6 separate regions of the Homo sapiens genome follow, and regions 1, 2, 3, 4 and 6 are each linked to region 5. The links are contacts of gene promoters, found by promoter capture Hi-C in human tissues and cell types (Jung and others, 2019). All regions are on one chromosome and are shown on one strand. Each heading gives the region's core, a stretch centred on a gene start or on the middle of the fragment in contact. The rest is flanking DNA. Distances are from core to core; before and after follow the strand shown. Region 1 has its middle 26 kb from the start of DNAH9. Region 2 overlaps SHISA6 (shisa family member 6). Region 3 has its middle 94 kb from the start of PIRT. Region 4 overlaps DNAH9 (dynein axonemal heavy chain 9). Region 5 holds the start of SHISA6 (shisa family member 6). Region 6 overlaps DNAH9 (dynein axonemal heavy chain 9).

Region 1 (3,290 bases), core at 788-3,287, 330 kb before region 5:
TGACTATTTGACTTGGAGGTCATGTATTTTTTTAGTTGACTAGTCAAATCATGGCTCACAAAGCTATTGTATTTAGCTAGAACTCATTGGCCCAGGAAGTGTTTTTTTTTTTTTTTTCAAATGTATTAACATCATTTAAAAATCAGTGTCTTTTAATCCTTTAAAAATATGAAATAGAGGCTATTTTGGGCTGGCATTTCTGTTTTATAATGATTGGCTGCAGCTGATAAATACAGCTCTTTTTAGATGGGACTTGTTCTCTAATTTGACGTGGTACTCGCCACCTCCTAAAGGCTCTAACAAATATAAATAATATTAGGCTAAGATCAGAGATAGCATAGAAATTCTTTTTTTTTTTTTTTTTTTGAGATGAAGTTTCACTCTTGTTGCCCAGGCTGGAGTGCAGTGGCATGATCTCGGCTCACCGCAACCTCTGCCTCCCGGGTTCAAGTGATTCTCCTGCCTTAGCCTCCCGAGTAGCTGGGATTACAGGCATGCACCACCATGCCCGGGGAATTTTGTATTTTTCATAGAAATGGGGTTCACCATGTTGGTCAGGCTGGTCTCGAATTCCCAACCTCAGGTGATCCACCTGCTTCGGCCTCTCAAAGTGCTGGGATTACAGGCGTGAGCCACCGCACCTGGACAGGAATTCTTTTTAAAGGCAGTAGTAATTGACTTATAAGGAATCCAGTAGGGAGTGATGGGGTCTGGACAGACTGGAGAGGGCATGACATTCATCCAGCCCACCTGGCCCTGTTGCAACTGATAATCCACCAGTTCCCCAGTCACAGCTAGAAGTACTTTACAAAAAAGGCAGAGCTAATTATCCAGTGATAAAAGCCCTGCCCTGGAAACAAAGAAAAAGGGGGCAAAGATCCACCTTAAGGTGGATGCTCAGTAGAGTTGCTCCCAGTTCCACTGAGTTTTCCTAATTTAAGCCAACCATCATGTGAGTATTGTGGCTTCTTTATGTAGAAGGCCCTGCTGGAGAATGGCCAAAACATTTGCTGCTCCATTTTCAGGGAGGTGTGGCATCTTTGTTTAAAGTGAGCCCTCCAACCTCACTACTTTTCAATATTAAAAGAATGAATTTTGTTTTTTCCATTAAAAAAGTAATGCATGCTTATTATGGAAAACTGGGAAATACATTAAAGTAAAAAGAAATTTAAAAATTACCAAGATTCACTAACACCGTTAGTAATTTGGAGTAGTTTTCTTCTAGTTATTTTGTTACACACACACACACATACACGAATGCATGCACATATGCACAGATGCTCCTCAACTTTTGATGGGTATTCATCCTGATAAAGTCATTATACGTTGAAAATATTGTAAGTCGAAAATGCATTGAATACACCTAACCGTCTGAGCAGCATAGCTTAGCCCAGCCTACCTTAAACATGCTCAGAACACTTACATTAGCTTACAGTTGGGCAAAATTACCTATCACAAAGCCATATTTTCTAATGAAGTGTTGAATGTCTTATGTGATTTATTGAAAACAGTACACTGTAGAGAACAGAACTGGTTGCTTGCCCTTGAATTGGTTGTTTGCCCTTGTGATGGTGGGGCTCACTGGGAGTTGTGGCTCCTGGCCACTGCCCAGCGTCATAAGACAATATTGTACCACATAAGGCTAGCCTGGGAAAAAGTCAAAATTCAAAGTACAGTTTCTACTGAACATGTATTATTTTCATACCATTGTAAAGTCAAAAAGTTGTAAATCAAGCCACCATAAGTCAGGGATGATCTATGTACACACATTTTATACATATATGCATTTATTATAGATTTATATATAATGATCCTATGATATTAGTAACATGACAAATACTGATTATTTTCTGAACACAGGCATAATGTATGCTTAGAAATGATAGAAAATAAAAAGAAATATAAATAAATCACTATAAATCAGATAGAGTCCCACCACCCAGTGCCAACATAATTTACTTATTGATATATTTACTTATTCTTTTATCTACACATTTTACACACACACAATCCTGACTTTTAAGCATACTATACATCAGAATAATCACAGTCCTAGATAGAAGATAAATAGAAAGAGGATTTGTGATAAATGCAAGCTACTGCTAAGTAGTATATTAGTGTATATTTTTAAAAATCAATAATTCAGATCATTCAGTATAATTTTTTTTTTGAGATGGAGTCTCGCTCCCTTGCCCAGGCTGGAGTGCAGTGGCATGATCTCGGCTCACTGCAACCTCCAATTCCCAGGTTGAAGCAATTCTCCTGCCTCAGCCTCCCGAGCAGCTGGGATTACAGGAGTGCGCCACCACCTCTGGCTAATTTTTGTATTTTTGGTAGAGACGGGGTTTCACCATGTTGGCCAGGCTGGTCTTGAACTTCTGACCTCAGGTGATCTGCCCACCTCGGCCTCCCAAAGTGCTGGGATTACAGGCGTGAGCCACCGCGCCTGGTCAGTATAATTTTAAAATAACCAGAAAATGACTCAGAATCCTTAAATGACCACTATGTTGCTCTCTGCAACTGAAATTTGAAGTCCACACCTACAGCTCTGATTTGGTGCATGTCTCAGCATAATACCACACTGCTCCTCACTGGTCTACCTGCCCTTCAACATGAACTTCATCAAATCCATGTTCTACAGGACAGCTCTAGTCATCTTCTGAAGGGTGACCTTAATCTTCCTCCCATACATCCCATGGCCCATCAATGGCTTCTCCTTTTCCTTAGGATGTGGGCAAATTCCTTAGCAATGGGACACACAGTAGTTCTAACCTCATAAGAGATGGTATGAGGATTCAGTGGGTTAATGCCTGCAAAGTGCTTTGATAGTACCAAGTGCACAGTTAGCATTGAGTGAATGTTAGCTATCATTATTCCTCTTTCATCACCTTCATTCTTTCCCCATATAGTGTAGGACAAGGCTATGGTAGCCCTAGATTTGTATCATTAAGGTCCAGTCCCTGACAAGGAAGACATTTTCTCTCTTTACATTTCTGTCTGGAAATTAAAGAAAAAGACTGCAGTTGGTCTGGCTTGAGCCATTGCCTACACTGGTGACTGAAGTAGGGTTGGAGTCTGTTATCAAGAGGTGTGGGGGACATAGGATGGTGGCCAGGATGATCGATGGAAGGCAAAGACCCAGATGTCCATGAATCTCGTCTCCTTTCTATCCTGTCTTGTTCTCTCATGAAGATTGTTCCTCGTTCGTAAAAGACTTATCTTCTCTTCTTGTAGTCTATCAAGGATCTCATACAGTTCCTTAATCCTGTAATTGTATGCCCCTCCTTCAA
Region 2 (2,959 bases), core at 207-2,706, 310 kb before region 5:
AGTATCTAACATCTCTAATAATTTGACTTGAGTTGGGATTGTGGATCTCCAAATATTGCAATCTCCTTGACAGCAGGGCCTTGCTTTCCAATTTTTTTTGAATCCTTCATAGTGCTTGGCCCAGAATAAGGATCCAATTAATGCTCTTTGTGGAACACTAATTAAGTAGACTCAGGCCCCCTCCTCGCTTGATAGTCACTCTGCCAGCTCCTGGGAAAGAAGGGAACATCCAAGAAAGCAATGCAGAGAAAACTCTACTCTCACTACATTGTGAGCTGCTCAAGGGCAGGGACCAGGTCTCATCAACCCCCATCTCCTTGCACCAGTTGGAAAAAAGAAGACAGGAAGAGAAGGAGGGAAGAATGGCTCCTCCTGTTGTATTCAGGAGTCTGCTTGTGTTGGCTCCTTCTCAGGAAAATGAGCTGGGTAGTGTGACTGAGCAAGTGGGAGCTCTCCTTGCGTGCCTTTTCTGGCTCTTCCTGAGGCTGCTTCATCACTGTGGGCATCCCCCAGGCTCCCTGCCTCTGCCTTCTGCACTTCTCTTTCAGTGTAGAGTGCCCCCACTCCTGAGGCTTCTGTTACTGCCTCCAAAGCTTCACTCACATCTTCAGCTCTAACCTTCCTCCAGACTTCATGTCTGCATTCCTGCCTGTTGAATATTTTTTTCTTGCAAACTCCAGGTGTCCAGATCCAAACTCACTGACAACTCCATCCCCCATACATACTGACTGTTTTCCTGATTCCTTAGATTTTGTTAATAAAACCCTTCATTTTTCTAATCAGTGTCATCATTGGCTCTCATCAGCCACATTCAGTTAGTAAGGAACTTTCTCCAATTCTTTCTTCAAAAGGTTTCATATCTCAACCGTCCTTTCTTTTCCCACTGTCAACATCACCACTGGTATCAACCTCTTTTCACTGATCTCCCCAGTTTCTCCCAGTTCTAACTTTTTAGACCCCACAACCTGACAAATCTGATTATACTATTGCTTTCATCATTTATTTCCACCTGGAGCATAGCACATGAAAATATTCCAATCTCTTCCTCCTAATTATAATATCCCTCAACTTCAGTGCTGAGGCACACCATAATCTGACATAACAGTGGTAGGTCTCTCTACCAGGTAGCCTGTAGGATTTATCATTGTTTTGAGTTTCTCTCTCACTAAAATTTTAATGATGTTTTCACTCTTTCACAGCAAAGAGACAAAAATGACTGATAATTCGCAATTTATGTGGCTGTCTTATGTTCTATCAAGTCTTGAGCAGGTGCCAAAAATAGATTTTCTCTGTTCAGCTGTGATCTGGTGGGAGGATATTATAATCTAAGAGGGAAACATAGTTTTATAACCCTTGGGCACTATGCTAACACTCCTCCACTCAACAATTTTCAGCCTCTTTTTTCTGCCAAGAGGCTAAAGCCCAAATCAGTTTTGAGTTTTATCAAATCTTAATTAGCCTGGGGAGGATCATAAAGTTTAACCAAGTCTCATGTCTTTCGTAAATGATATCACAAATAGCTTTGAACAAAGGAGGGTGTTCCACTCCTTGCTGTGGACATATGGAATTTATGACTGTAAGAAGTGATACAGGTGGCAAGTAGAAATGGGTCTAGCCCCTTTCTGTTTATGTCAAGAGATCATTCTGATATCGGAGACAGAAACACCAAGGGGAAAATAGCCTACAAGTGAGATTAGAGCATTGTGGCCCTGGAGGAGGGCGAGCCTGTGGCTCCTTGGACCTCCTTAGCTTCAGTGAGTTTATGACCGTGTGTTTGATGCCCTGATAGGCATCCATCCTTAGAATGGTGCCACTCGAAATAAGGAGGAAATGCAGAGTGCTCTCAATCATCTCTCACCATGTGGCGGGATCTGGGTAACACTGCTCAAAATCGGATGGTTATATTGATGATCACCTGAAAATCATAGAAAAGAAATTTTTAAAGAAGAGTTCAGGCATTCCACTATCTCTCCAACATAACAGCATCTCTCTTTACCTCTAATGTGCTTCTCTGACTTAAAGGAAGCACTTCTAAGAAAGGCAGAGGTCATTGTATGAGGCTCCAAGAAACGTCCCCTGCTGTTTCTGTCTCTCTCCTTCTGCAACAGGGTTTCCTCTGTCACCATGGTGACCCACCCACATCTCGGGATGAGGCCAACTAGTTATAGAGGCTTCGTAGGGGTGGGTGGAAGAGGAGAAGGATGGAGAGTAGGGAGTGTTTGGCAGGTATGCATGCATGCGTGCATGGACAGGGTGGGGGAACTAAGCCGGGGAAGCAGATTTCATTGAGTGGTGGGTATTAGGGTGTGGTTAACCAAAATGAGGGTGCCCTGACTTAAGGCGCTTCCACTTTACAGGACTCTGATTTGTCCCTAAGCCTTTATACAGGAGGGTCTGGATGCATCCTGAGATGCAGCAAGATGACCTGAGCTGTCCACTGCCTGAGATCAGGAGTCCTGGATTCTAGGCTCTGTCCTGCCTTTAAATGACACAGTCTAATAGTTCAAAGGCATTTCCTTTATTAATAATATTCCACTTAGATGGAATAAGCCACACAATTAACACAGTTACAGTTGCCAAACCCTGAAGTTCAAGGCGTTCCAAAAGCTTTTAAAATTGTTTGAATGAAAATGTGGCTGACCACTACAGTGCACTCTGGCATTCTATGATTGCTTCAACTGAACATTATGTTCTTGTTTTTCATTGTTGCATGTATCTGATTTCAACTAAAGCAAAGGGAAGAGGAGGCATGAGGCCTTTGCTTTAGTTTACCTAAACCGCAGGTTACAGCCCTGTCCTTCTTGCAGTCTAGAATATCTGCTTTCATTTCTTTACATCTTGTGACTGAAGCCTTCTTTCCTGCCTTTGGCCTTATACTCTGGCTACTCATTCCATAGCTCCTTCACTATGTCCCATTTCCCCTTCTATTCTGTAAATACCAGGGCTTCATAATGCTCAG
Region 3 (3,376 bases), core at 397-2,896, 310 kb after region 5:
ATTCACAAATACTCTTTTATATCAAACAAGATAATGAGAGGCAGGGAGAAGAGTAAGCAAAGGCTGCCTAATAAGGTGTCTTTACTGTGAAGCTAACAAAATTTAAGCTTCACAACCCTTCACCTACACAGGCTACTTCCACATTCCTGGAGGGACCTAGTAATATTTCTCCACAGTCACTTTGTTATTGTGAAATTTTCAAAAGTCAAATATTTTAATCTCAATTGGTCAGGACCAGTATTTCTTCTTTGACTTCTCCTCCATCATACCTTCTTTCATATCTGGTGGCACTGGGATGGCCATGAGCATTTTGGAGATACAGTTAAAGGTAAATTGAGTTGGGAATATAATTTGAAGTTAGGTGGATATATTTACATGGTTGGCAGTCACTTCCATATATAACAAAGTTATTGCTAGCTGTCCTGACAGAGTAATGGCTTCCAAGAGGAATCCTAATGTGCAGTCTACCGATCACCCAGTGCCTTGACTTTGTACAACAAGGTGCAGGGCCAGAGTTGTGTCACCTATAACCACGGCCTACAGCTCCCAGCAGAGAAAGCTCAGGGACAGTGGAAGCAAAATGACATTTCAAAGTTGATATGGTTCGGCTCTGTATCCCCACTCAAATCTCATGTTGAATTGTAATCCCCAATATGTTAGAGGTGGAGGCTGGTTGGAGGTGATTGGATCACGGGGGTAGTTTCTAATGGTTAAGCACCATCCCCCTATTGCAGTCTCATGATAGAGTTCTCATGAGATCTTGAGATCTGCTTGTTTAAAAGTGTGTAGCACTGCCCCGCCCCCACTCTCTCTCTCCTGTTGGCCATGTGAAGATGTGCTTTCTTCCCCTTCCCCTTCTACTATGTAAATTTCCTAAGGCCTCCCCAGAAGCAGAAACCTGTATAGCCTACAGAACCATGAGCCAATTAAACCTCTTTTCATCGTAAGTTACCCAGTCTCAGGTATGTCTTTATAGCAGTGTGGGAATGCACTAACACAAAATTCTGTTTCCTACCTGACATGGCATATCTGCTGACCTTTGCACATTCACATTAAGATGGGGCCGGCCTGCCACTGACGGCAAAGGGCTGAACTCGACATTATGAGGCTCAAAGAAGACTTGAAAGTGGATGTGTTTAGGTACAGCTACTTTCACACTCCTATGGTCAAGGTCAGTGGTTCTCACTGAGGGGCAGTTTTGTCCCCCAGGGGACATTTGGCAATGTCTGATCTTGAGCAGGAAATATAATATCTCTTGACACTGTCTTATCATCTATAAACTGAGATAATATCTATCTTGCAAGGCTACTGTGAGAATTACATGAACTAATGTAGTGAAGTGTCCTGTACAGAGCTTGGAACATATTAGGGGCTCCATAAACAAATGTTCTATAAACATTTATTTCTTTGATAACCAGATAAGCAAAGGCAGAATTATCATACATGCAGTCAATTTCATTTATATGCAAGTCACTTCTAAGACAGTTTCCAAGTGTGCATTGTATCTAAAAGTGGGACTTTCTGTACCATTAAATGTGAATAAATACAGTAGCCCAGTAGAATCACTGAACTATGGGGAAGAACCACTGAAAAGCCTTCTAGGAATGTGGTTGAAATTCCAGGCACAAGACGAAGGAACAGAAAATTGTTCATACATTTCCTCTTATTCAGAAAAATATGAGCTAAAGCAGGAAGCTCAGCTCCTATTGTTGAGAGCAGCAGGGAATATTAGGGGCTGTGTGTGCTGAATATATATTTTTGTGTATTATCTTGTAAAGAGCGGCAAATTTGGCTTCATAACAGTGAGATCAAGCATAACAAATTTACTTAAATTCTTGGAGTGCATTACTGACTCACACAGCTTTTTTATATATTTCACCCCTAGAAAAGAATTTAATAACCTCTCTGCTGCATTCTTTGTCTGGGTAAAAAGCAAGGGAAAAGAGTATGAGTGGATTTGATAAATTACAACTTGTCTTGTGCATAGGACAAAACTCATTTGGCTGTTGCAAACGCAGAAAATCGGCATCTCCTGTGGATTAAAAAAAGCTGATATAGCTTAGGAGAAAGGTGAGCTTGTCCTTCTGCCCTTTGAAGCCTTAAGAACCCTGCCTGTGGGTTACACCACTGTGAAAATTCCACTGGGACAGAATTTCATGGCTGCCAGTGTTCACCTAGGCAGGTGTCCACAGAACTGGAGAGTGGTGAATATTCTGTTTGACCAAAAGGAATACAGACAAATGTCTGATGCTTGAGTGTGAGTGGCTGCAGGTCACACGTGGGAGCCCAGCTGATTGGCAGAGCTTAACAGTTCTTTGATTCATTGGGGCTTAGAATTGGCTAGATTGTGTAGGACAGTGCTGGACCCAAAAATCTGCTCTTAGCAAAACTTAACTTGCCATAATTAAGGCAGATTCACAATTACCAGCACATCACCTTTGACCTCTCTCCAGGTGAAGATGGGTCTAAGAATTTGCGAGTCAGAACATGTGCAGCCGTGGAATTCTGGCCCAGTGGAATCTTCATAGGGGTGTGCATGCGGCAGGATCCAATCCCCTGGGATTTTATTACCAAATGTTTGCTGAAATCTCCACCCTGGCTCTTTAGGTAGCAATACTGCAATACTGTAGTCAGAGGTTGAAGGGGACCCAGAAGACAAGCCCAGACATCATTGTCCTAGTCCTTCTCGAATTTGTCCAGTCCCATAAAGGGTTATTCAGCTTCTCCAGCAGCTGGAAGACTCCAGGATGAAAACAAATCACTTTCTATAACACTATCGACAGCTGCTCCAGATTTGCAGGATTTTTCCTTTGTGGCGGATTAGTTATTTAACTTGGTGAAGGTTAATGACTCATGGGGTTTGAGTCTGGCTGGATCAGTAGCTCACAGTCCTGACTACCCATTAGAAACTCTGGAGGTGCTTTTAAAAAATGTCAATGCCTGTGCTCCACCACTGAAGATTCTAATAAAGATGGACTAGGGTGAACCCCAGGGAGCCCAAAGCTTTGAAAGCTCCCCTGGTGTTTCTGATGTGCAATAACTGGCTGGAGAAAGTGCAAAGCATAAGAGAGTGTCTTTAGAAGAGACAGCAGGAAGCATTTCTCACCACACATGTAAACACCAACCCAGCAGTCCCTGAACTGCAAGGCCATGGAATATCAGTTTATTTTGCGGCTAATGAAGGATAAATAGACCTTTCCTAAAATTTTTGCTTGGAGGCCCTGAGTGTCCTCAACTACTCAGAACTAACTAGTGCTACTTTAAAGGTATGACCTAAAGTAGAGGCTGGGCAAGGAGGAGGGACTATCAGAAAGGAATGCTATAGACTTCTAGGTTGGATTATTTGGTAATAAGACCCATGTCTGGTCCCACCACT
Region 4 (2,886 bases), core at 272-2,771, 360 kb before region 5:
CCCTGGTCTCTTTTAATTTAATGGGTGCAGGTATGAAGTATGTAGAGCTGGGTTTTACCAGGATTGTGGTTGCACCAACTGAGTATGACATAGTGAGGTAGAGGCCAGTACATCAGGAGCTGATGCAAGGGTATGATGATCATGAAGGAGCATGGCACTCAAATTGGGTAAGAGAAGAGACCGTGTGCATGGTCCAGGGCCAATGGGAAGGAGCCAAGGTCAAGAGATTGGAGCTCCCAGCAGGATCAAAGGACTGTTGTAGTCAGGGTATGAGAGAGAGTGAGCTGGAAAGATGGGAGTAGTGGTCAGAGAAGGAGGTGCATAAAATTGGACAATGAGGTTGGTGGTTGTTGGGAATGCAAGGTCTGGAAATGGCCATGGGAGGGGCTGCTTATGATCGGGAGGAGGACAAGATCACTGGAGGACAAAGATACAGAGAACCCAGAGGCCAAGTTATTGGAAGGGTCATTCACATGTCTTTGGAAATAACCACATATTAGAAGTAATGTTGGGGAGAGCCACAGTGAGTTGGGAGGCAAAATCATACACACGCAAGGGTAGCACCATCTGTACAGGATGCAGCAGTGAGAGTGGATGATGTCCTTTGATGACAGGAGATTCAAACTGGAGGCTTTTTGATGTGGATCTAGAGCAGCAAGGAGGAACAAGGAGGCCACCTGCCCCAGCTCCAGGCTTAGGAGAAGGCTGTAGGGGAAACGCAGCTGAGTCCTCCAGGAGGAGCCAGGATGGGTTACAGCAAGGTGACAAGGATCCATCAGATGGGTGAGGAGGATTTTAAATAGGATGAAGAGTGACAAGAATTCTCATCCTTTATGGAACACCTGCAGTGTGACACTCTATTCCAGGTGTTCTAATATATGATGTCTAAATTTCATAGCAACCCTGCAAGACAGTTTTGGACCTGGCAGAGTGAGCACATCTGCTCACATCACACTGCTGAATTTAACCAGAATTTGACTTAGGTCTGTGAGATTCCAAATCTTATGCTCACATTCCAAAATGCAAAAAGTCAAAAAAAAAATCCAAGTTTCAGAGCTAGGAAAAATAAGTTGGCAGTAGTGAATGATGTGGTTGGAGGAGGAAGTAAGGAAGTAGGAGAACAAGTTACTAAATTCTGTTAATTCTTCCTTTCAAACATTTCTTAGGCACATTTTCCTTTTTTACCTTGTACTCGTAGAATGGAACAAAAATAATATTAAAATTACAGCTTTCTCTCAGCCAACACCCTCAATCCTACCCCCAAACCGCCCCGCCCACACACACACAAGGCAGGAAGACGTCTCTCAGCCAGGTAGGTTCTTCTGGCTTTAGCGATGCTGCATGGGGAGGTGGAAGGAAAAGGGGAGCAGGTAATCAGAGACTATTAAGCTGATTACAAGGTGCTGAGAGAGAGGAGAGGGGGTGGACAGGAGGGCTGGGCCAGAAGGAGGGTCTTAGCAGATGGGAGGCCAACAAGCCTTGAAAGAGACACTGGATCAGCTTCAGGGTATGGAATAAAAGTAGATGGATGGACAGAAAGTGGAATAAAGTTACTGGTACAAGCTTTGAGAAATGCAAGGAAAGGACTTGAGTTATTTTTAAAATAAGTTATTTATTTAGGTTTTAAAATAGGTAATACATTTACATGGGGCAAAAATTTAAACGTACAAAAGCTTTTACAGTGGGAAGTAAATCTTCCACCTACCCCTGTACTTCAGTTACTGTTTCTCCTTCTTGTGGATTACTGTTAAAGAATGTCCTCTCTTCCTCCCTCCCTCTCTCCCTCCCACCCTCCCTTCCCTCCTTCCTTTCTCTCTTCTTCCCCTCCTTTCTTTTTTAAACATAAATAGTAGCATACCATCCATGCAATTCTGCACTTCTTTAAAAAATTATCTTAAATTGCAGCATTATTCACAAAAACCAAGAGACAGAAACATCCTAAGTGTCTATGATGGATAAATTTTTTAGAAATGTGGTATATACATACAATAGAATATTGTTAAAAAAAGAAAGAAATCCCGCATATGACGATAGGCGGTGACGATATGGATGAACCTTGAGGACATTATGCTAAGTGACATAAGTCAGTCAGAAGGAACAAATACTGCATGATTCCACTTATATGATGAGTCAGGTTCATAGGAACAGAAAGTAGAATGGTGCTAGCCAGGAGCTCAGGGGAGCGATGTGTGGCTTGCTGGGTGTGTGTGGAGTTTCAGTGATGCTGGACGGGGCAGTTCTGAGGATGTGTTGCACAATAATGCATATGTGGTTGACAATATTGTACTCTACACTTGGAAATTGTTGGGTGAATTTTACGTCATGTGTTTTTTTTGCCACAAGGAAAAAATTACCCTAAGGAATAACTCCGGTTGGACATGGTGGCTCACACCTGTAATCCCAGCACTTTGGGAGGCCAAGGCAGGAGGATCACTTGAGTCTAGGAGTTTGAAACCAGCCTGGTCAACATAGCAAGACCCTGCCTCAAAAAAAGGAATATTCCATATCAGTCATTCTTTTTAATAGTTGCAAAGTATTTCACTGTATAGATGGCCCATAATTCAGTCACCCAGTCCCCTGTTGATGAACATTGTTTGTCTCCAATCTCTTTCAATGCACCAATGAAAATTCTTAAACATTCGAGAATTTTCATTATTTTAAAATTATTTTTCTTGCTGGACTACTTTGCTTGGCCATGACACAACTCTGAGATGGGCCTTCTGTCTCCCACATACACTAGGTTAAATCCTGTCTCTGAACCTTTGATCAGTCTGCTCTCAGTATCTTGAAAGTTACCTTGCTCTCTACTTATACAAATTCTTCTAATTGTTCAGGAGACAATTCAACACTTATGTTAAGCATGCTTCTCAGATCACAGGCCTGTCT
Region 5 (3,024 bases), core at 352-2,851:
GAGCTCTTGGCGTAAGTTTTGGTAGGAGGCAGCTCCCACTGTCTTTCGAACGTAAGCAGTGAAAGATGCCCCACCAGGTTTAACACAGGCGAGTACTGTTAACTCAGAGTTCTGCCTACAGGGTTTCAAAGAACGAGTCCTCTAGTCTCAGCAGGAAAGATAAACATCCCACTCCGCAGGATGCAATGAGGAGACACCATCTGTGCTTGGTCAACATGGAATGGAGAAATCTTTATCCCTACTTCCGGCAGGAGGCATCCTTTCTATAAAACCCCAATTCCTAATGTACGAGAACATCTCAGTTGACCCTAAGCCACTTGGTACCGCTTTCAGTAAGGTTCCAACATTGGTCAGTTTCCTATATTGAAGATGACACTCTGATTTGACTCAAAAAACTAAATGCCATTAAGAACCTACACCAAAGTGCCCTCATGCCAGGAAAGCAGAACCCTGGATCCTCATCCACGATTACAGAATTTGTAACATTCTTACACTTGGAACTTCATGCACTCAACCAATTCTTACTCTGCCTTGTAAATCCCCCTACCACCAAAGCATGCATTCCCGGTTCTGAAGAAATGGAGGAGGGGGCACAAGAAGACCCTGATTTATTGCATGCAAAAGGAGCGATGGTGGAAATGACTAGAGGGCCTGGGGAGGTGTGATGATGCCGAGAGTGAAGAGGACAGGGGAAGCAAGCTGAGAGGGTGAGGCCGCGGGGAGACCGGGGCGCGCGGCACGCGGCGCTCTCACCTGTGGATGTTCATCTCCCGTGGAGGGCGGTGGGCCTTGTCGTAGGAGACCTTGGCGAAGACGCCGGCCACGATGACGAAGGCGATCACCCCGCAGGTGATGTAGACGGTGAAGTTGGTCTTGTCCTTCTCCGGGTCGTACTTGTTCTCGGGCCCCGGCGACACCACCTTGGTGCTGGGCGTCTGTACCCACACCGGGCTCTGGTAGTTGGTGCACTGGCGCTGGTCCAGCTTCTCGTGGCGCTTCTTGCAGCAGAAGCGGTAGTAGCAGGTACCGCAGCAGTACAGGTAGCCGCTCTCGCTGTTGTTACACTCGAACTCCTTGTCGTACTGGCCGCTCACGTCGTAGTAGCCCCAGCACGTCTCGTAGGTGACGGCCGCGCTGGCCGCCGCCGCCACAGCCGCCGCGGGCTGCCCCCGCCGGCTTCCCGCCTCCGGGATTCCGGGCGCCCGGGCGGTGCCGTTCAGCTCGCGGCCGCCCCGTGCCAGGGCGCCCCCGGCCCTCCGGCCCCCGACGGCAGCGCCGCCTGCACTCAGGGTCCGGTTGGCGGCGCGGCCGCGGGCTCCGTGGACGCTGGGCAGCAGGTCCAGGGACTCCAGCGAGAGCAGCAGCAGCAGCAGGAGGCGCCGCAGCGCCATGGCGGGGCCGGGCGGGAGGGCGCGGGGAGGCTTCCGCGGCAGGCCGCTCCCCCGGCGGGCCGGGCTCGGAGGACCCGCCGCGCGGGCCGGGCTGGAGGCGCTGAGCGGTCAGCGGCTCCGGGGCGATGGCGCCATCGAGGCGCGGGCGGCAGTGGCGGCGGCGGCGCGCGGTGCGCACGGACCGGCCCGGCGCGGGCTGCTCGGGCTCTCAGGCTGCGCGCCGGCTCCGCGCTCCCCCTGCGGGCTCGGCGCGCCTCCTGGGCAGCCCCATCCCCCGCCGGCGGTGACTGCGGCCCCGCGCGCGGCTCGGCTCAGGCAGGACCCGAAGCGCGGCTCCGGGCGGCGGCGGCGGCGGCGGCGGCGTGGTCCCGTCCGGGCGGGTCCTGCGGGACAAGACGGGGAGCCGGTCACGGGGTGGGGCGACTGGCGCTCCGGGAGCAGGAGGAGAACCGCGGGCAGGCGGGCGGGGAGGGTGCGCGCAGCCCTCGAGGAGAGAGACTCGGAGCCGGGAGGGGCGTAGAGCCCGCTCCCAAGACGGGGTCCCGCGGCCCTGCGCGCCTGGAACCGAGAGCGCACGGGCCGCCCCTCCAGGCGCAGCTCGGCCGCCCGGGTCCCCCAGCCGCCCGGCCCCGCAGCGCGCTCCCGCCGCAGGCTGGCTCCCTGGGACGGAGCCGGTTGAGGCTGGGGTCCGGCGGCGAGCCGGGAGAGCGCGCGGCGGCTGGACCTCACTCACTCACCATGCCCGGCTGCGACTGCAGAGGCGGCGGCGGCGGCGGCGGCGGCGGCGGCGGGGCGAGGCGGGAACGCAGCTGCCGGAGCGAGCGAGCGGAGAGCCGCCGGCTCGCCGCCTGCACTAGTGCCGGAACGTGTGCGAGAGTGAGCGAGGGAGACACACGCACTCACACACCCGCACACACGGGAGCGCCGCGAGGGGAGGGGGGACAGGGGAGGGGAGGGCAGCCGCTCTCCGCCACCCACGTTTGCACGCCCGGGCGCTCAGGGTGCGGGGCGGGGGGGACTCCTTTTCGCTTCTTCCGGATCGCAGCAGTTGAAGCTCCGCGTCACGAAAGCTCCGGACAGCAGTTATTCGACACGGCGAACCCGGCGGGCGAAGAGGGGGCCGGGAGCAGGGCGGAACGTCCGCTCTGCAGCCGGCCCGCGGCAGGGACTGACCTCCCCTGCCATTGCCTTCTCTAGCCTTCGCGACCAGTCCCCACCCTACCGGAGCCCGGGGCAGCGCGCTGCCTGAGCGGGAGTTGGGGTTTCTGCAAGCCTTTGCCTCTCCCTAGTGGTGATACTCGCAGCCAGGAGAAGAGGTCAAACCCATTGCTACAGGTTCCCAAACTGAGTCCAGGGGTCAAGTGGCTTGTCTGAGGCTGTTGGGCGACCCGTGAGCTGAGCCTACACTCTCTTCCCCTTGGTCACTCTTTCCCCAACCCCGTACCCACTACGCATAAAGGCGCTAGACAGCCCCAGGACTGGATGGCAACTCTTTGCTATACTTTTTTTTTTCCCCGCGGAGCCTCGAGGCCATTAGAAAGCTATCTGAACCTCTGAGACTCAGCTTTGTAACCCCTGTGTTGAAATCTCTGTGCTGCAGCTCCTATGGGAGGTGAGGAGGATGGGGGTGCAG
Region 6 (3,010 bases), core at 511-3,010, 390 kb before region 5:
GCAGCCAAATCTGCCCAAAACTGCTCAGTGCATGGTTTTTGCATTTCAAAAGAGAATTAAAAAAATTGAAAAGAGGGCCGGGCACTCTGGCTCATGCCTATAATCCCAGTACTTTGGAAGGACGAGGCAGGCACATCACTTGAGGCCAGGAGTTCAAGACCAGCCTGGCCAACATGGCAAAACCCGTCTCTACTAAAAAAAAAAAAAAAAAAAAAAAAAAAATTAGCGAGTCATGGTGGCGTGTGCCTGTAATCCCAGCTACTCGAGAAGCTGAGGCATGAGAATCACTTGAACCCAGAAGGCATAGGTTGCAGTGAGTTGAGATCGCACCACTGCACTCCAGCCTAGGCAACAGAGCAAGACTCTGTCTCAAAAATAAATAAATAAAAATAATAAATAATAAAATGAAAAAGAGTGTGTGACAGAAAACACATGTACCCATAGTCTAAAATATTTATTCTCTGACCTTTTGTAGAAAAAAATGTGGAACCCTTGCTTTAAGTCAACGAACATGAGAAACACGATATAAAATTACATCCACATGTCCTAAAACTGGAAGCTGAACAGTCTGCATTTGTCTAAGACCTTATGCTCTTTATCCTACCTCCTTATTTCAGGTTGGGCCATTTTTTTGCTTCACTGGCATCCCAATCCTGGAGGGAGTGCAAGCTCTAGGAGCTGATTGGCATCAGCTCACAATCTTAGATGGCTCCTAGAAGTCTGAGGCATCCAGGCCATGTTATGCAGAATGACCAGGTATGGAGAAAAGCCAAATATGGGGTCCTTGGCCAGATGTTTTCCAGGTCTGACAGTTTGACTGGATTTCCTTAATGATTCCAAGGCACTCTAAGGACTCTGTAAAGGTGCTAAAAAGCCTTCCATTGGGGAGGATCTAGGGTCACACTTTCTTTCACAAAACAATCACCCAGATCTCTGGAGACAGTAAAAAGTAGCTCTGCCTCAATGGAAGCATAAGAGAGCAGACTTTTCCGAGTTCTGTGGCTCCCATCTTCTGTTGAGGAAGTACAGGTGTGTGCACAGAGGGACCACCATGGCCAACCTGCACCGTCTGTTCACAGTCCTTGGCCTGGATGTACTCATGGATTCATGTCCACTGAGGGGCCACCTAGTAGTTGGATGATCTTACAGCAGCAACAGGGGATCTAGAGTCAGGTACTCTCTCTGGTCCCTACTCCCCAGCCTTGAAAATGTTCTTCTCTGCATGAGCTTATGTCAATTGGAGATTTTGCTTTTGCTTGGGGATGAAGGAAGGGTTTTAGTTTCTTGTTGGTGAGATCACCAAAAAGAGAGAAACAAAGTAGGCAGAAGGGATCGGAGGGTTATGGTTTTCCTACTAGTTCCCAAGGCCTGGGCTGGAAGCTCAGCTGAGAAGAAGAGTCAAGGTCAGAAGATAAATAATCTGCTTTTATGAGCCCTCTGAAACTCTGGGTACAAGCAGTGCTGCTTCAGTAGAGGGAAGGTCTCCCTCTACTTCTGTCCAGAACCCATAAAATTTCAAGGATTGGAATTCTGGAACCCAAAGAGGCATGCCCTTGGCACACACAGACATGTTTTCATGGTGGGGACCATCAGAAGAAAAGCAATGGCAAGACTCCTTCAAGCACTTTTCTTGGCAGATAAAATTTAAAGGGGGTCTGTAGACATGTAGCAGATGTCGTGATTTCAAAGACTTCAAAGTGGCTTGAGAATACTTGTGAGGCATCCCTTGAAGACTCCTGAACATCTCTGGTAGAGAGGGATCTATGTGATGTGTAGGTCTGGGCATCCTTAGTGCACGAATGGAGTTTCAGCCCCACAAGTTGCCTGAGCAGCAGAGTTTCAATCATCCCTGACAGTTAATAGCATACATGATCATTTTGTAGACACATGCAAGCCCTTTCTTTGGAATTGGTTCAAATGCTTGGAGAGGGGAATCTCAAAAGGCTTCCAATGTGAATTACGGTATTGATTAAAGGCTACATGTATATGTATGGTCAATGGCTAATGGAGCCTGCCGCATTTGGGTTACCAAATACTCTAGAATAGCACAGATCCATCCATCCAGGGTTTAAGCCTCTTCTACAATTGTCCCACCCATCACAGATCCTGTGTCTGAACATTTTCAGTGCCCAGAAACTGAACTACTTGCTAAAGAAGTCCATTCCATCTTAAACAGCTTTGACAGAAATCTCTTTCCTCTACTGAACCACAATGTGACTTCTTGTAACTTCTACCAACTACTGGAACCCTTAAAGCTTTACAGAATAAGCCTCTTGATTGCTTGGTGGAACACATATCATGCTCCACTGAGTCTTCATGTCTCACGATGCAGCGTTCTCAGCTGTGCAGCCATTTACCTATGCATCATCTACGCCTTGTCCTAAACCTTCTCCTCCATACACTTTGTATTACCTGATCTGAGCGTGATATGATAAGAGCACAAATCTTCTTATTCCAGTTATCGATGCCTGAAACCTATCAATCATTACCTGGGAGGTGGTTTGCTCCAGATTGAATCAACCTAGCAGCCATGGTTAAATAGCCATGGTATTGCATGGTCACACTTTCCCTACTGCTAAAGGTATGGCACCTAAAGAGATCACCGCAGAAATTCTTCTTAAAAGTATTTTTACATTGTCACATTTTCAGGAAAGCATAAGTAATTAGCCTGAGAATCCCAATTCTGCACACTTTCTTGATATAAGAAGGATTCCCATATCCTTCTCTACTAGATTAATAAGAATAATTAATAGTTGCAGGAACAGAACAGGTGGAAAGGTATCCATATCATCCTCTGATGAGGGCCGGGGGAGTATCCAGGACCGAGTGGCTCCTGCCCCATTTACACAAACCTTAAAGGCATGCTCCAAGCCAGGTGCATCATCAAAAGCTTGAATAAAGATAGTCCCCAATCTTCGGTCAAGATCTTCTACTTTCTGGTTAAATTCAGAGACGTCATTTTCAAAGTCCTGAAGAGACACCATATATATATAAGGAAAACGTAATTTTC

The links. Contacts are between HindIII fragments. The study calls those that stand out against the background at their distance.
Region 1: a contact is called between a fragment that was not itself captured here and the fragment with the promoter of SHISA6 in region 5, in 2 of the 25 tissues and cell types used here (dorsolateral prefrontal cortex and stomach).
Region 2: a fragment that was not itself captured here is called in contact with the fragment with the promoter of SHISA6 in region 5 in 4 of the 25 tissues and cell types used here (dorsolateral prefrontal cortex, hippocampus, mesenchymal stem cells and 1 more).
Region 3: a contact is called between a fragment that was not itself captured here and the fragment with the promoter of SHISA6 in region 5, in 2 of the 25 tissues and cell types used here (mesendoderm cells and thymus).
Region 4: a fragment that was not itself captured here is called in contact with the fragment with the promoter of SHISA6 in region 5 in 1 of the 25 tissues and cell types used here (dorsolateral prefrontal cortex).
Region 6: a fragment that was not itself captured here is called in contact with the fragment with the promoter of SHISA6 in region 5 in 1 of the 25 tissues and cell types used here (thymus).

The regions. Positions count from the first base shown.
Region 1 is chr17:11,570,546-11,573,835 of GRCh38, reverse strand. No RefSeq gene overlaps it. Among named protein-coding and RNA genes, the nearest start is that of DNAH9, 26 kb to the left of the region's middle. The HindIII fragment of the contact is 9,172 bases long and covers 1-3,290 here.
Region 2 is chr17:11,550,852-11,553,810 of GRCh38, reverse strand. SHISA6 (shisa family member 6) reads right to left here. Exons shown (of 6, transcript NM_207386.4): 4 at 1,859-1,915. Among named protein-coding and RNA genes, the nearest start is that of DNAH9, 46 kb to the left of the region's middle. The HindIII fragment of the contact is 5,118 bases long and covers 1-2,959 here.
Region 3 is chr17:10,930,800-10,934,175 of GRCh38, reverse strand. No RefSeq gene overlaps it. Among named protein-coding and RNA genes, the nearest start is that of PIRT, 94 kb to the right of the region's middle. The HindIII fragment of the contact is 5,656 bases long and covers 1-3,376 here.
Region 4 is chr17:11,600,266-11,603,151 of GRCh38, reverse strand. The region is part of intron 1 of DNAH9 (dynein axonemal heavy chain 9); the gene reads right to left. Among named protein-coding and RNA genes, the nearest start is that of DNAH9, 3.2 kb to the right of the region's middle. The HindIII fragment of the contact is 3,676 bases long and covers 1-2,886 here.
Region 5 is chr17:11,239,790-11,242,813 of GRCh38, reverse strand. It overlaps SHISA6 (shisa family member 6), which reads right to left and starts at 1,601. Exons shown (of 6, transcript NM_207386.4): 1 at 754-1,601. The coding sequence starts at 1,391. The HindIII fragment of the contact is 17,378 bases long and covers 1-3,024 here.
Region 6 is chr17:11,632,546-11,635,555 of GRCh38, reverse strand. DNAH9 (dynein axonemal heavy chain 9) reads right to left here. Exons shown (of 69, transcript NM_001372.4): 8 at 2,853-2,969. Among named protein-coding and RNA genes, the nearest start is that of DNAH9, 36 kb to the right of the region's middle. The HindIII fragment of the contact is 3,960 bases long and covers 1-3,010 here.